2 separate regions of the Homo sapiens genome follow, and region 2 is linked to region 1. The links are contacts of gene promoters, found by promoter capture Hi-C in human tissues and cell types (Jung and others, 2019). All regions are on one chromosome and are shown on one strand. The core of a region is centred on a gene start or on the middle of the fragment in contact, and the rest is flanking DNA. Distances in the headings are between cores, read along the strand shown. Region 1 holds the start of ST6GAL2 (ST6 beta-galactoside alpha-2,6-sialyltransferase 2). Region 2 overlaps LINC01789 (long intergenic non-protein coding RNA 1789).

What was found. The method cuts DNA at HindIII sites, captures the fragments that hold promoters and counts their contacts. A contact is called where the count stands out against the background at its distance.
Region 2: a contact is called between a fragment that was not itself captured here and the fragment with the promoter of ST6GAL2 in region 1, in 1 of the 25 tissues and cell types used here (dorsolateral prefrontal cortex).

What each region holds. Positions count from the first base shown.
Region 1 is chr2:106,883,814-106,889,469 of GRCh38, reverse strand. ST6GAL2 (ST6 beta-galactoside alpha-2,6-sialyltransferase 2) reads left to right here and starts at 3,303. Exons shown (of 6, transcript NM_001142351.2): 1 at 3,303-3,377. It overlaps LOC124907864 (a long non-coding RNA gene), which reads right to left and starts at 2,937. Exons shown (of 2, transcript XR_007087169.1): 1 at 2,363-2,937. The HindIII fragment of the contact is 7,907 bases long and covers 1-5,367 here.
Region 2 is chr2:107,325,382-107,331,037 of GRCh38, reverse strand. The region is part of intron 1 of LINC01789 (long intergenic non-protein coding RNA 1789); the gene reads left to right. Among named protein-coding and RNA genes, the nearest start is that of LINC01789, 37 kb to the left of the region's middle. The HindIII fragment of the contact is 3,735 bases long and covers 1,234-4,968 here.

The DNA of each region.
Region 1 (5,656 bases), core at 2,054-4,553:
TACAACAGTAATTTGCATATTTGCCTTAAGATGGTAGTTTTTCTACTTCTATAAAGTTGACTGTTATTTGGACACTTTTATTTAACTCATTAAAATTTCTTTAAGATATCAACTTTGGCAGTATTTACGCAGAAAGGATAGTAAGTGTATAAGATATATATACACTATAAAAAGTGTACAATTTTTTCTGTTTCAAGGTAAAGTGTTTTAATAATGGCCACTGTCATTTATTAATTACTACAATTTATTAGGTATAACATGTCAGGCACTGGGGGAGATGCTTTTAACACATGCTCTCTACTTACAACAAACCTTGAAGATAGATACTATATAATTTTTTTTTTTTTTTTTTTTTTGAGAGGGAGTCTCTCTCTGTCACCCAGGCTGGAGTGCAGTGGCACCAGCTTGGCTCACTGCAACCTCCGCCTCCCAGGTTCAAGCGATTCTCCTGCCTCAGCCTCTCGAGTAGCTGGGACTACTGGCGCTTGCCACCACGCCCGGTTCATTTTTGTATTTTTAGTAGAGACAGGTTTCAACATTATGGCCAGGCTGGTCTCGAACTCCTGACCTCGTGATCCGCCCGCCTCGGCCTCCCAAAGTACTGGGATTACAGGTGTGAGCCACCGCGCCAGGCTGAAGGTAGGTACTATTACATCCATTATACAGAAGAGAAACAGAAGCCCACAGACTTTGCAACCCCCTCTGCGCCCCTCTACTATTAAGAAGGTGAGTCTTTCTGCAGTATTTCCTTTCTCTATCCCCACCAGCTATGGGTCTCTATCAGGTTGTTTGTTTCTGTTTTGTTTTGGTCACTTTTAACCACACTGTATGTATTTCACATTTATAAAATATAATTTTTCTTTTTTTTTTTTTTTTTTTTTTTTTTTTTTTTGAGACGGAGTCTCGCTCTGTCGCCCAGGCCGGACTGCGGACTGCAGTGGCGCAATCTCGGCTCACTGCAAGCTCCGCTTCCCGGGTTCACGCCATTCTCCTGCCTCAGCCTCCCGAGTAGCTGGGACTACAGGCGCCTGCCACCGCGCCCGGCTAATTTTTTGTATTTTTAGTAGAGACGGGGTTTCACCTTGTTAGCCAGGATGGTCTCGATCTCCTGACCTCATGATCCACCCGCCTCGGCCTCCCAAAGTGCTGGGATTACAGGCGTGAGCCACCGCGCCCGGCCATAATTTTTCTTTTTTTAAAAAATATCTGTGTAACACATTGTTCATTCAGGCAGTTCCGCAGAATTCCATGTGTCAGACATAATTAATACAATTGGGGAAATACTGAGTAAGCGTTTTCGGCCCACACTTTTGTTTGAACACAGTGCATTATACCCACTCGATTTTAGTTTAATTCCCGTGCTGTTTTACATTTCTGTAAACTCTTTGAGGGAGTTCTGGGCGCCCACTGTCTAGCTCAGAGTTCCAGGCTAAGGTAGGCACTAATGAATGCTGAATGAATTGGGTAGCCAGTTAATTGCTTTTTCCCCCCTAAAAAAAAAGTCTAAATTACTTGAATAAAAGTATTTGCGGATTTTTAAATAATACATTTAATGGCAGATCTCTGTCTCCAAAACGTGTGTCCTTCTAGCGACTGAGGGTGTGGGGTGGGGTGAGGGGTGACTAACCAGTCCCCCTGAGATGGGCCCAACCTTAGCAATATTATCCATCTACCTGGGATTCCCCTACACCTGAACAGCTCTTTGGGTCCGCGAGAGAACCAGCGGGGTGGGGCACCCAATGCCAGGAGTGCGCGCGGAGAGACACGCTGAAGTTCACAGGAGAGTATTTACCAGCAAACAAAGGGCGGCGCGGTTTGGGGTCCTAGGACCAGCTGCCGCCGTCTCGAGAAAACGCAAGGGCCGCGGTGACAAGTGGACATTCCGCACGCGACCAGACCGACACTCGATGGGCACCTCCCCGCGGCCCCGCCCGCAGGCTCCAGCTGCCCAGCTCGCAGCCGCCCACTGGCTCCGGAGGCTGCTTCAACCACTTGTCCCGCCGGCTTCTACCCCAAGAACTTTCCGTCCCTCTTGGGGTTGGGGACCGGCAGTGTGGAGGGGCGGGCAGGTGGGGGTCTCCAGGGAGCACCGTCACCGGACTTGGCGAGCTACCCTTCCCAAATGAAAGGTGGCCCGCTCCCAAGTCCATCCCATATCCTTAGAGAAGCTCTGGGAGCGAGGGCCAGGCGGCAGTGCGGAGCCTGGTTGAGCGAGATGAACAAAGGGAGCTAGCGAGCCGGGGAGGATGCTGCGCTCCCCTGCGCCCCACCCAGCCGGCTGCCAGGCGCTGCCAGGCGCGCAGGTAGCCCGGCCTTCCGCGCTGGCGGGGGGAGGTGTTGGACAGGGTACACAAAGACTCACTTCCGCCGGGGCAGGCGCCGGGACTCCCTCCTGGCCGCCCACAGCCTGTGCGCATTCCTGCATTCCTGCCGCCGCCCGGGACCCGAGTGCCCCGGAGGTGTCCAGGCGCGGTGCCAGGCGGGTACTGTGCAGGTAACCTTCGGAAGAACTAGGGCTGGATGGAGGCGGCGGCCGGGGAGAAACACGCCTTTTTAGGCAGCCGTGCTGCCCCGCACCGCCCCACGCAGCCCAAGTCTGCAGTCACTCTCCGCGACAAGCAGAAATCCGCGCGCAGCCAGGGAGCGCCCCGCCTGCGCTCGCCGGCGGGCCGAGCTGCCGGGCCGGGGGCGCGGGGAGGGGGCAGCCCAACTTCCCAGTGCCCGGCTCCCGCCAGCTAGGTGAGCCTGGAGCGGGAAGGATGAAAGGGATCGCGGAGAGGGAGGGGGCTCTGGGGCGAGCGGAGCTCGGGGGCGGGGCGCGGCGCAGCCTCGGTGCGTGGGCCGGGAACCGCCGCCTCTCCCCGGGGCTCGGGGCCGCGGTTCCTCTGGCCGCGGGAGCCGCCGCCGCGCTGCCCGAAACAATGAGGCGTGCAGCGCGGGGCTGAGCGTAGCCTCCCGCCGGCTTTGAGGCCGAGCCACCCGCTGTGCCCCGCCGCCCGCGCTTGCAGCTGCCGCCGGCGCGGAGCAGCGCTGGCCCCGGAGAGGTGATCCCGCAGGCCGCCTGGGACGGGAGCGCGGGGCAGCTCCGAGACCCCACGGTGGCAGGAGGAGGACTCGAGCCTGCGGCAGGACGACTCCCGCCGCGCACTCGCCTTCTGCAGCCCCCAAGTTCCGCGGCGTGAGTCGGGGACCCCGGCCAGGGTCCCAGCTCTAGCGGGCGCCAGCGTGAGTGTGGGAGCGCGTAGCGCGCGCACCCGAGCGGCTGCCGGGGAATAAAATGTGACACGCACGCCTTGGACTCCAGTGCCGCGCTGCCAGGGGGAGCACCGAGCACCACGGTGTCGTGCGCTTCGAGGCGCGGCGTGGGAAGAAGGCTGGTAAGGGAGGGCACTGGGTAAGGGTTGGCGACGCCTTTCTTGGTGGCGCTGCAGCCTCCGCGCTGCTGTGCGCGGAGTTACACTCCGTGTTTAGGAGCGAGACCCGTGTGTGGGGAATGTTGAAGGTGGTTTGGGGAAAAGCAGGAAATTCTGGAGAAGCGAACGGGAGGACGGCTTGCGCTTTGGGGACGGGCGGATACAGTTGTGCCCCTGTGGCTCAGTAAAGGTGATCTTTTATTTTGGCTCTTTTGGCTCTGGAAGGGAGTGAAGATTTTTGTCTTTCTTCAGCCAACCCCCGTACAAAACTGCACTTCTTAAAGGTTAAAGTGTGTTCTGTTCATTTCTGGTTCTCTGTGGCTATAATGTTTGGGGTAGTAGGGATCTTTAGAATCCTAAATACCCGAGTGTTAATTCTTATGTAGTTGGCAGGCGGCAAACTCCGCTTTTGGGTTTACTTTCCGCGGTGTTACGGAGTGGATATTTGATGCATTCTTTTGAGTAGGGAGTGTGACGTCCATCTCATTCGGATTTGCCGGTTCTGTGTTGGGGGACTGAGTGAAGTTAAACTCAATGGCTCCCGCAAGTGCTGCCTTCCAAAGAGCTGAATAGCTGTGTTTGGAGAAGCTGTGCTTTCCAGGAATTTAAATGAGACTTTTTGTGATTGCCTTCCAGGTCTCTCCTCCTAGTACCATATTTGTTTTGTCAGGCTGAACTTTCAAAGCTGTTTTGTAATCTGAGAAGCACTTTTGGGGGGAAAGTAATGCTTGGCTGGATTTTTGTGAACTTATTTTTATTGGACATGCGAAAAATTTGGCGAGAGGCAAACCATATTTGGTTGAAATCATTGTCTTTTGCACCACTGCCGTTCTGACCATAAAGGGGCATGCTGACCCTCCTCGCCGAGGACTGCCTGCTTGGGTGAGGGGGGTCTTTGGTGGGCTGGAAGCACATTTTGTATTTAGAGAACTTTCTGCACACTTGAAAAACCCCATGCTGGTTACTTTGATGCTTCCCTTTTTTGAAATTCTGATCAACATTTTTTGCCAACTTGAAATATAATTTATGACCAAGGAAGAATTCCAATAAAGTGAAGTGCTATATATATATGATGTATATGTATATACATACACATATGTATATATGTGTGTGTGTGTATGTATATATATATATATATATATATATATATGCGCTGCAAATTTAGGGTTAAAACTTTTTTTAAAAGGAAAACTGATGTGTGGCCTTGAACCTGTTTTTACCCACTCTCCTTCCCCCATTATTTTTCTGGAACTGACAACCAAAATTTTTATATACCACTTGAGGAATTTTGTACTAATGCATTAAAAGAAACTGTTGGCAAAGGTGAATGGATATTGTGCTCAAAACTGATGAAAGTCTAAAATAATAGGTGAAGTGCCTTGAATTTTACTGCAAAGTTAAAAAGGCACTCTATCCAATTTTTGCCGCAATAGATACAAATGGTAGCATCTTACATTTTTGCTTGGTGCTGTGAAAGCTTCTGGAGTTTTGAGTTAAATGTCTTGTAGAGATTGTGATAGGAGTCACTGCTTTATATGGAGTACTGAGCTCCACAGTTTAGAGAGGCTTTGGATGGATACTCCTGGAAAGAGTGAGGTCAGAGCAAGGACCAACATTTGGTGAGTTTGCTATGTGGTGCACAGGATCTAGGAAGCAAGGATACAAAATTCAGGATTTTTAGACTAGAGGATTCAAAGTTGAGACAATTTAACATTTGAAAATATGTGAATGATTTATTATGCAGAAGAGGGCAGTTATCTGTGTTGAGTTTCTGATGAGGATAATTAAGAGGGAAAAGGTTTACTCTGTGGGGTGAAGACATAAGTTGAGTCTAGGGAGTTGTGGCCAATCCAGCCAGCAAAGATTAAATAGCGAAGGGACTGCTGAAAAAATTCCTGTACGTGCTTGTTTCTGGAGGTTCCACCCCCCCACCCCCGAGTTTCTCTTCTTTCTGAGATGATTTCAGTGTGTGAGGCTCTGGTCTATTGCTTATACTGATACTGACTGAAATTTTACCCTCCAGGTTTAGAATTTATCCAAGCATTTCTCAAATGATTAAATCTTTTCTGAAAGACAAACTGATTTCTAGGCTTCTGCCACTCCTTCTTAGGTAAATAAATGATAGGTTCCTTTCCAAAAACTTGGAGATATTTGTCCTCTGGGAAGCTCTTAATTAGTTTGCAGATTGCTACCTCATGGGTGAGACTTTGAATAAAAATATCTTATGCATGATAATAAGGACA
Region 2 (5,656 bases), core at 1,852-4,351, 440 kb before region 1:
TATACACTTTTAGTTGGAATGTCAATTAGTTCAGCCACTGTGGAAACTAGTTTGGAAATTTCTCAAAGAACTAAGAGTTAGTCTACCATTTGACCCAGCAATTCTATTACTGGGTATATATCCAAATGAAAACAAATAATTCTACCAAAAAGACACATGCACTCATATGTTCATCACAACACTATTCACAATAGCAAAGACAAGGAATCAACTCAGATGCCATAAACAATGGATTGGATAAAGAAAATATGGTACATATACTCCATGGAATACTATGCAGCCATAAAAAAGCATAAAATTATGTCTTTTGCAGCAATATGGATGCAGCTGGAGTCCATTATCCTAAGTGAACTAACAAAGACACAGAACACCAAATACCATATGTTCTCACTTATAAGTGTGAGCTAAACATTGAGTACACATGGACATAAAGGTGGGAATGATAGACACTGGAGACCACCAGATGGGGGAAGAGCAAGGGGTAGAAAATACCATATGGTCTCACTGATAAGTGTGAGCTAAACATTGAGTACACATGGACATAAAGGTGGGAATGACAGACACCGAAGACCAACAGATGGGGGAAGGGCAAGGGGTAGAAAATGACCTATGGGCACTATGTTCATTACCTGGGTCATGGATATATTTGTACTCCAAACCTCAGCATCACACAATGTACATTTGCAACAAACCTGCACATGTACCCCTGACTGTAAAATAAAAGTTAAAAAAATAGACAATTTTTGTTGCTGAAACACCATCAGAATAGCTTCTATTTATGCATGCAAAACACAGGCTCTTACTAAAATGGATATGAAATTTCAGATATTTTTAAATGTTTTGGAGATAGGTTTGGTTTTTAACAAAATGGACATGAATTAACTTTGCAACAAAAATAAAATTGTAGGAGGACTTTCTGTTTTCAGTATGGGAAAGAAGAAGCTTGGAAGTCATCACTTCCATCTTCACAGCAAGACAAAAGATGAAGGAACTGAAAATAACCATCTTTAGATCCATCAGATAATTGAAGTCACCAGGCGAAACAGTGCCCCTCACACTGGCAGACAGACAGGAAGATGCAGAGAATTACAACTTACCAGAGCAGAAGCCTGGGATCAGAAACCTTTGTAGGAACTGGTATTGGGGTTCATGAGGCTAGGAAAACTTAGAGGCTTGGTGTTGACAAGTTTGAGAGTTAAAAATTTCAGGGAGGGCAGACTTGGTGGAGGGGCAGCTTTTGTGAGTTTTTACCTCCAGGAGCCTTTACTAGGTTCTCACAATGAAAATAACTTCTCTCATGCTTTCAGCAAGAAGAGTAGAAAAGCAATAAATTTCAAATACACTCAGAGTATTTTGTTCTCAATGAGGCCCATCATCAAGAGAAGCTATTTTAGCAGACTATAACTGACTGGAGTTTCAAAAAGCCTAATCGACATGGCAGAAGGGAAATCCCCAACTCCAGTTCTGTCTGGTTTTTCTGTCATACATTAGGGAAGGGCGAGAGGGGAGGCAAACCTGATAAGCTTTGTGAAGGTCATAGACCCGGTGATAAGCTCACTGAAAGACTGAGACCTAATCATAAAAATATAGAAGACTTTCCCTGCCCCAACACCTTACTATCATATTAGTAAGGCTCCTGAACAATATCAGAATAATACAACCAAAGAACTGCATGTCTTAGAACTTATTTAAGAAGTTCCAGGCCGGGTGCGGTGGCTCACGCCTGTAATCCCAACACTTTGGGAGGCCGAGTTGGGCGGATCACGAGGTCAGGAGATCAAGACCATCCTGGCTACCACGGTGAAACCCTGTCTCTACTAAAAAAAAAAAACAAAAAATTAGCTGGGCTTGGTGGCAGGCGCCTGTAGTCCCAGCTACTCCAGAGGCTGAGGCAGCAGAATGGTGTCAACCCCGGAGGCAGAGCTTGCAGTGAGCCGAGATGGCACCATTGCACTCCAGCCAGCCTGGGCAACAGAGCGAGACTCTGTCTCAAAAAAAAAAAAAAAAGTTCCAAAAAATTCCAACAAGAGCAAAAGGGACAAAAGCAAGAACATCAGGATAAATTTTAGCTTCTGAAATCTACAGCTATAGTAAACATTGCACACAGCCCTAGCTCCAAGGCAGAAAAACATAAAACAATACACTGAGGTCTTATGTATCTCTATTCCTTTTACCCAGTGCATCATGTCTGGCTTTAAGAAACAACTAATTATAAGGCACACTGAAAGACCAAAAAATAACAGTCTGGAGAGCAGGACAATCACTGGAATCAGCTGTACATGTGTCACAGGTATTGGAATAATCAGACCCAGACTTTAAAACAACTATGATTAATACACTAAAGGCTCTAATGCAAAAAGAGGACAACATGCAAGAACAGAGGAGTAATGTAAGCGGAGAGATAAAAACTTTGAGAATTAAAAGGAAATGCTAGAAATCAAAAACACTGTACAGAAATAAAGAATTCCTTTTATAGGCTCATCAGTAGACTGGACTCAGCCAAAGAAAAAAATTAGTGAGCTTGAAGAAATGTTAATTAAAGCTTCCAAAACTGAAATGCAAAAATTTTAAAAAAGAATGAAAAAGAAAATAATATCCAAGAATTGTGGGACAATTCCAAAAGGTGTAATGTCCACAAAACAAATGAACTATTTGAAAGATGCAAAGAATAGGGGAAATTTGGGGACAGGTGTATATGATAACTCTTTGTACTTTCCATTGGACTTTTTTTTTGTAAGCCTAAAACTGTGGAAAATACCTACCAATTAAAAAAATTGAGGCAATAATTAGAAAATGTCAGATTTAAATAAATATAAGCTGCAAATGCAATGATTTATTGACTGACGTATTAGAAGTGAGAATCTGTATAATATTACTCTTAACCTAATATCTCAAGAAGACGATAAACAAGGACATAGAAGAGTCAATTCTACCATTAATATCAAATATTTAGTGGAAATATTTTCACATTTGTGTCCTAGAATCATGAATAAACATCCATTTCAACAATTTATAGGATATTTACACATGTAATTCATGTACCAGACTAGAAAGATAATTCCAATAAGTTGCTCAAGACATAAAGTTATAGGCTTTATTATTTAATTAAAATGTGAGAAAACTGGAAATTTATAACAAATGCTTAAACTTTCAAATTCCAATCACTTGGATTTTTTTAAACATGTATAATTCTTTTAAACAACTGGCTTAGAGAGGAAATATACAACTTCAAACTCATCAGATATTAATAAGGAGTATAGACAAATCTATACTTTGAGGAATATTCATAGTAATATTCACAGGCTTTTTGTTCCTTGTCTGGCCAACAAGCAAGATTTCTGAGAATACAATTACTATGTAAATGATTAGAAATATATTGAGCTATTTATAGAAATAGTTTTCAAGTAAGTATTAAAATATAACATTTTGGAATGGGGAAGAACAATGCGTGTTATCCATCTATTGTGGTAAAAATCTATTTATCTAGAAATTGTGGAGGAAAATATTAAAGTACTTCTCTGAAAATGAAATCAAGGCCCAGCTGGCTACATCCATTAAGACTAATTTGATTATGAGATGATACCAGTTGAAATTTCAGCACACATGTTGTTGTTACCTCCTTTCTCTTTTGCTAATGAACTGTTAACTAAATACTTTAGGAAACCTCAAATGGTCCTTTGCATACTTCAGCCTGTATGACAGTTGATAGTGGTGTGTGGGGAGCAGGGAACAACCAGCTAGAAGTAATAGCTCAGGTGCAGAAGTGGAGATTGCAGTGGGTTATTCGCTGGAGCCCAAAGACAAAAAGGAAGAAAAAGGTGGTAGAGAGTTCTCAGCTCATCCACATGCAATAGAAAGCCTAGGCTTTCTCAGAAAAATTGCAAGAAGCTTCCACTTCCACTACAACACTTCACCTCCACCACCTGCTCTCTTTTCAACACTGCCCATGACAAGCAATCAAAAACACTGGAAAGCAGAAGCAGGTCTGAGAGAGCAGCTCACATACATGGAGTAAAAATTGGCATAAAGGAAGAGGGAATGATTCATGAGACAGGACACAAAACAAAGAATGTTTGAAGTACACTAGAGACAAATAAGGTGGAAACGTAGCCTCATATAATGCTATACATAACCCTGGGATGTCCAATTTCTGTAGGGGTCTTGGTCAAAGCTGATCATCTTGCTGGACTCAGCACTAAGTTGACTGCTTCTGCCTGTCATGAGGGTTGCCTCAGTTCCAAATGTTTGGCATGTAAGGAAAGCACAGTTAAAGGGAGTTTCCATGGCCTAGTGCTGGGGGGACCAGCTCTACTCATAAGAAATGCAAAGACACCCTAGGGTAAAGGACTGAGGTTATGGAAAGAGTAGTGGGAAGTTGCAAAATCTCAAGAGCGAATAAGCTGGCATCTTGCCTTCCAGAGCCATTTTCCCTTTTTCTTTTTCTGTTTTCTTTGGGTCTAGTCCCAGTAAATCCTTTTGCCAGATAAAGCTCTGGAGTAGAGAAAGCAGCATTTCAGCAGCATTATTGAAAAATGCTCTTTCCTATGGCCAAAACTAAGACAGAAATGCCAAGACTTTTAGACTCAAAGAAGAACTGACTGGAAGCCAAACATGTGCTGGGTTCGCTTGGTAGGAGGGTTGGTGAAGGGAACAAAAGGAAAATTCACAAATAGAAAATGACACTAGACAAAAGGCCTTGCAAAGCAAAATTTGCAATATTAAGCATACTTTTCATTAGCCAGGAGAACCTTCAGAAAAGATAAGCTGCTTGGATTTTAGGCAAAAAAGATTAACATATTCCAGTTGGTGTTTCCCCTGAGGCTCAAGATGTCCTGTTTTCTTCTCTGCAACAGCTGTTCCCAACCACAAAGGCCCAGTGACTAAGAGAAGTGAAAACATAGAGCCTTCTTGTCAGAGTTCACTTGTGTCTTTGGCCTTTTCTAATTTTTTTGACCCACAGTGTACTTAGGATCCATTTGTAATTAGCCAGGCAAAGGGAATAAAAGGGCGCGCTTCAGAAACTGAGCCACTCTGATTAGCATGTCTTGATTGGGGCTTTGAAATACCCTCAGAGTGTCCCCAACTCATTTAAGGGATGGTTTAAATGCTTAGAGCAAAACCAATGAAAACCCACCTTAACTTTAAATAAAAACATGTACCTAACATCATTTTAATACTTGGGAAAGGGAAGAAAATCTGGTGGAATCAATAAGTACCTATACAATCTCATAGGTTGTAAAAGTTGTCATGTGATAAAACTAGTTTAGATTGGGGTAATTATTGAGAAGTACAGAAATAACTATGAGGGCATGGGAATAGAAACAAATATGATCTGTTGAGCCACAAATGAAATCAATTGTTTATTTTAAAAAATTGGTTGTAGATAATGTTTCTGCAACATTTCAAGAATGTTTCCTCTTCTCTCCAACTCCCTTGTGGTGGTCTGCCCTCTTGGCTGATAGATACATGATCCTTCTGCTTGGGTATGTGGGCACCATCAAAGAAGAGGAGTAGATTTTTAACAGTACGTGCTCATGTGAACTCTGGATAGAAAAAGCCTTGGAGGTGATAAGGAAGTGACATTGAGGTCCTCAAAGGAAAGCCCATCAAGCTGTACTAAGAGGACAAATGCCACCTGGATGCACAAGACAGCCTC